2 separate regions of the Homo sapiens genome follow, and region 2 is linked to region 1. The links are contacts of gene promoters, found by promoter capture Hi-C in blood cells and fetal thymus (Javierre and others, 2016). All regions are on one chromosome and are shown on one strand. The core of a region is centred on a gene start or on the middle of the fragment in contact, and the rest is flanking DNA. Distances in the headings are between cores, read along the strand shown.

Region 1 (2,700 bases), core at 46-2,545:
TGGGAGGTGATAGGGAGTGGTGGGGCATGTGACTGACTGGGCATCTGGTGCCCCATGAAAAGCAGAAGCCCCTGCTCAACTCCAGGCCGTTTCTATGAGAGGAGTGCAGGCCCAGTGTTCCCGAGTATCTCATTTTCCACGAGAAGTTGGAAAACCTGACTTTTCATGTGATGTGACATTTCCTAGCGTTTAAATATTTGAGAAGTAATTAAAATTATTTCAAAACACACTAGGTAGGCCAAATAAAATGTGTCTGAGACCTAGGGCTGGTATCAGTTCTAGTCTGTCTCTGTCACTTTCCACAATCTAACCTGCCCTCCCAGCTTCAGTGGTTACTCAAATTTCAATGTCTCTGAGCGTTAGATGGCCAGCCCTGGCCTGCACCCCAGATTTACCCTAGAATTCATCTGCATGTGGGTGCCCACACACCTCCAATGCAAAGCGGAGCCCATCAGCCTCCCAGATTTGGCAGACTGTAGGATCTCAGTAAGTGTGAGCTATTTTTGTCTTTGTTCCACTAACAAAAATACTACTACTACTAACACTGCTACTAATACTCATGCTACAAAGAATAATCTCTTGCCCCTCTTTTGTTCCATTTCTGTTACTCAACACCACTGCCCCATCAGGCAGCCAGGGAGGACCCTGTGATCTTGGACTCTTCACTCCCATTCCCGGCAGTTAGTGGATTGTGTTTATTCTTCCACGGCCCTCTAGAATGTGCTTCCAACTCTTCCTTCCAATTAACTAGAAACTCTCCTAGTTGCTGAACTTGTCATGTGTTCTCAGCTATTGTCTCAGCCTCTAACTGCTCACCACCAGGCGCTACCTCTGCATTTAAGATTTATTCATCACGCTGTGGCTAGTGTCATCCCCTAAATTGCCGTGCAGCTCTCATCACTCACCTCGGATGGATCCCACCGGCTGCCCCCGCAGTTCCTCAGCCATCCCTGCATGCCAGCTGTACCAGGCACTTGTATGCCTCTGCATTTGTGCTGGCTGTGTCCTCAGGCGCATTTTCTTCCTTCATGCCTACTATGTTAATTCTGTTCGTCCTCATCTCTGGTCAAATGCCACCTCTTCCACGAGGCTGTCACTTGCCTTCCCACCACCAGCCCCAGTGTTATTTGCCCCGTGCCTCTTCCAAGCTCTCACAGCACTTGATCTAAGTCTCTTTTCATTTCATCCGGCTGTGTATTATGAAGTTTGCTTGATTCTTCCCCCTTCTCTTGATTAGCTCCTGGATGAAGAGACACTGTCTTTGTCATCTGCGTATCCCCAAGAAACCCCTAGTGTGCTGCCTTACATGTAGTAGACACCTTGAAAACCTTTGTCAATTGAATCAAAGTTTGTTTGTGTGTGTGTGTGTTTTGTTTTTTCTTTTGGTTTGTTTTTTTTGTAAGTTGAGGATGGCTGCATCTAAAGGGCTCAGGCCAAGGTATTAAAAACAAAACTGCTTGGTTATTCAAAAGGATTTATCAGAACCCCAAGAGGCTAAGTATCAAGCTAGTGAAAGGGTTATTCTGCCTGTCCCCAATTCCAAGGGTGCAGTTTTTAGAGGACGGACGGTCGTGTTTGGTCTACTTGTCGTCAGGCAAGGCCTCTTCCACAGTGCCCCATGGAAGCTTGGGTTCAGTGCCAGGGGCAGGGAGGAATGGGCAAGCCTCTTGGACACTGGGGCTTCAGCCACCCTGGCATATAGAGTCCTGCACTGTTTGTCTTGCCCAGAAGAACAGGCTGTACCCACCCATTCACAAGATGTCCTCTCTCACATCATTGGCAGGCCTGGGAATTTCCCACAGGCCATCTGGGTGTGTTCTGCCGTCCTGTCTCCCAAGTTTTTTGCAGCATTGTTTCTTGTTAATTAGCTCTTAGAATAGCAACTGCTCTTCCATCAGGAATTGTATCCCGTTGACTTTCCTAAGGCAAGAATCTACTCATTTCTTTTTTGTAAGCATTTTCTCCCTTCCTGCCTGCATTGCACAGGCTTACTTAGTGAGAGCCCAAGCAGTGTGAACTAACTCCTAGCTCTTACAGAACTGAGTTACTTATAATATGCATCTCCTGAATCCTGGGTGACCACTGTAAGTGCCTGAAGTGGCAGCTGCTCTGACTGGGCCTGTGCAGCTCTGAATGCTGCATTTACTTTTGGGTCCTGCCTCCAACCCAGAACCACCTGTGGCCTTTAATTCCTGTTACTAGGAGAGAGGAGAAGCGATTAAACCCTGTCAGTATATTCATTTATTAGCTGCCCTTTGAAGCTTTTTTGAAAGCATTTTACAAGGTATATCCCGTCAGGTTGCTTAGGAACTTTTGCAGCCTCCTTCTTCAACATTATCATTTTCATTTGAATCAACACTGGCAGCTTGACACCTCTGGACACCTGGCATGGCAGTGGGAGGTACCTCCAAACACTGTCTTTCCGTGTCTGCACCTTCAACAAGATTTTCTCTGTAAATTCAGCTCCAAAACAATTTTTATAAACACAGCATTACTTTTGTGTTGTTCACAAATCAGATTTGGAAAGAGGTGCTTGGGGACTGTCATGAGTCTATTTAAAGATAACCTGATTTAAATAAAAACAAAAACAAAACTTTTTATCCAAGGCAATTTTCTTTCAATATGGGAAATTAAATTAGCTTCAGTGTCTTTGAAATTGAGAACCACACTCCGGCCATGAAAAGTGAATTATCCTGTACT
Region 2 (2,700 bases), core at 20-2,519, 52 kb before region 1:
GTATGAGCAAAAACAAAAATACTCGCCAGTGGAGGGTATGATCCAGTGAGGGAGAAAGATGTCAATCAAATGATTATACCAATAAAAAGTAGCAACCATGACTAGTGCTATGAAGAGGAGAAATACAATGCAGTGAATGAGAACCTAGAATAGGGTGATTCTATCCAGTTAGGGAAAGATGGAAGATTTTTATAAGGAAGTGACTCTTGGGCTGAGGTCACGGTAAAGAGGGAAGGAAGGAACATTTGAGACAGAAGAAACAGCAAACGCAGATAGATGCCCAGTAACAGGAAGGAGTGTGGCAAGGTCAGGGGTTTTTAGAGCAGGCCAGCCTGGCTGGAGTCTAGGAAGCGTATCTTACTTCACTTGGCATTTTATTATCCTACAGTGTTCAGTCAGCTGATGACTTCAAGATTTTATTAAACACTCCTTGTAAATAATTTATTTGAAGGTTAGGTAAGGCCGGTCATGTTGCCAATCCCTGGAGGAGCCATCTATTCACAGTGAGTTCTCTGTGTCCAGGTCTGTGCATTTATACTCAACAATGGGTTTATAAAATATTAGAGCCAGAGGAGACCTCAAACGTTGCTAAGGGCCAAGTTATCTTTTACAGATGAGGGACTTCAGGTGTGAAACGTCCAAAAATTGTTTCTCATAGTGGATATTCTCTTCGGATGACTCATCTGCTGTTTGCTTTCCATCTCCAGGAAAACAAAAATATGGCTAGAAAATTTTGTTTCAGTCTTCAACTTACAGCTGGCATGAAGAGCAAACCAAGACATTTTGAGGCATTCAACCCTGTTTACTCCATTGCAGTGAGAAAAATCCAGTTGAGATCAGAACATATTTCCTGAGCTGCCACCTAGTGCCGGATGTTGCATTAGGAGGTGTAGATACAAGATGAGTAGATGAGATGTCTGCCCTTTGAGGCGCTTTCTGTGGGGTGAGAGAGATAGCCATTAATAAGTCATGGCAGCTGGGTTCCAAAATTGGAGTTTTCCCAGGGTATCTTGGGAGCAGACAGAATGGCCACTTGCCCTAAGATGGATGTTCAGGCAAACTTCCTGGAGGAGGTGATGCCTGAGCTGAGTGTGAAGAGTTAAAAGCTGAACAAAGATAAGGAGGGTGTTTAGGTAGGGGAGCAAGTTTGAGCAAAGCAGAGAAGTGTGGTGAATGTGTAGTTAAAGTGGAAAATGACAGGAACTTTGGTAGCACTGGAGCCTGAAGTTGGAGGCATGGGAAGAGGGAAGGCTAGAGGAGGCTGCAGAAATGAAGTATTAAGCACTTACTGTTCTTGAGATGTTTGAATTCTGGGTCACTTAGGACTTTGCTCCATTGCCTATCACAGGAAACATAAAAATGACAGTGGCTTAAGCCAGATGGAAACATAGTGCTCTCTCACATGAAAAGCCTGGAGGTAGGTAGTCCAGCCCCGCCATGGAAGCTCCGTGGAGTCATTTGCAACCCAGATTTCTGTGCTTTCTGTTCTGCTGTAGACAGGGTCACGTCCTTGTCTAAATGGTTGCTGAAGATCTAGGAATCATCTCTCTATTCCAATTCCATGTAGTAAGAAGGGCTAGAGGGCATTCCTCCAAACTGAGTCAGCTCCCTTTAAGGGGCCTCCTGGAATTCCACACAGTACTTACCATGGAATTGGCCAGAACTTGATCATATGGCTGAGTCTAGCTCCAGTGAAAGCCAAGAAATACAGTATTACAAGTGGCCATGTTCCAGCTAAAAATCAGCATTCCATTATTAAGAAGGGAAAGAATCATTATTTGATAGAAAACTTGCAGTGTCAGACACAAATTCCATGCCAGGGAGTCTGGGCTTTATGGAGCAGGTAACCTTTGAAGAATTCTCAGCAGGTCTTATGACATGAGTGGATTTATATTTTACTTTTACGTGCGGGTGGGGGGCATGGCATGTGTGGACATACCCATGGTAAGCAGCAGCCAGGTTGCAAGGGAGAGGTTCATTTTGAGGCAGTTGCAGAGTTCCAAGTAACAAGATAATGAGGACCTGAACTAAGACAGTGATGGTAGGGCTGATGAGAAAGGCATAAGAGATAATAGCAAGTAAAGCTGATAGGACTTAGTATTTGGGTGGATTCAGGGTAAAAAAGAAACCGGAAATCATTTCCAGGTGTTTAGCTAGAAGGTTGAGTGGATGGCAGTGCCATTAGCTAGGAGAGATCATGTGCCTAGGAAGAAGTCTAGGCAAAAGAGGAAGAAGTTTTAGAAAGGTTGTATGACAGGTGCCTGAGGTATACTCCAGTGGAGATGCTCCATGGATAGGGGCATAGGAGTCTGAAGCTCAGTAAAGAGGATGGGCTGAATTAAATATTTGGAAGTCATCAGGACATAGCTATTAGTTGAGACCACGAGACTGAATGAGATCACCCAATAGGAGTCTCTTAAATGGAACAGTGTGAGTCAAGGACAGAACCCTGGGGAACCAGACTCCATTAGAAATCTGCCTAAATTTGGCTCCAGGGTTATAGAAACAATTGGTATGTTCATCATTTAGAGTAAGTATCCCCAAAGTGCCAGTGTATTAAAAATATAATTCCATAAAAGTATAGAAAAAGATCACTTACTTTAGAGTATGTGTGTGACGCTACATATATTCTTCCTACTGAAAGAATGCTGGACATGGTTTTCAGAAGCCCTGCATGCTAGACCCAGCCCTGGTCCTGGG

What was found. The method cuts DNA at HindIII sites, captures the fragments that hold promoters and counts their contacts. A CHiCAGO score of 5 or more calls a contact.
Region 2: a contact is called between a fragment that was not itself captured here and the fragment with the promoter of PRKCH-AS2 in region 1, in 3 of 17 cell types (neutrophils, activated CD4 T cells and M0 macrophages). The highest score is 16.3, in neutrophils.

What each region holds. Positions count from the first base shown.
Region 1 is chr14:61,544,189-61,546,888 of GRCh38, forward strand. It overlaps PRKCH-AS2 (PRKCH antisense RNA 2), which reads right to left and starts at 1,296. Exons shown (of 3, transcript NR_188139.1): 1 at 906-1,296. The region is part of intron 12 of PRKCH (protein kinase C eta); the gene reads left to right. The HindIII fragment of the contact is 1,799 bases long and covers 1-1,623 here.
Region 2 is chr14:61,491,809-61,494,508 of GRCh38, forward strand. The region is part of intron 10 of PRKCH (protein kinase C eta); the gene reads left to right. Among named protein-coding and RNA genes, the nearest start is that of PRKCH-AS2, 52 kb to the right of the region's middle. The HindIII fragment of the contact is 5,736 bases long and covers 1-2,700 here.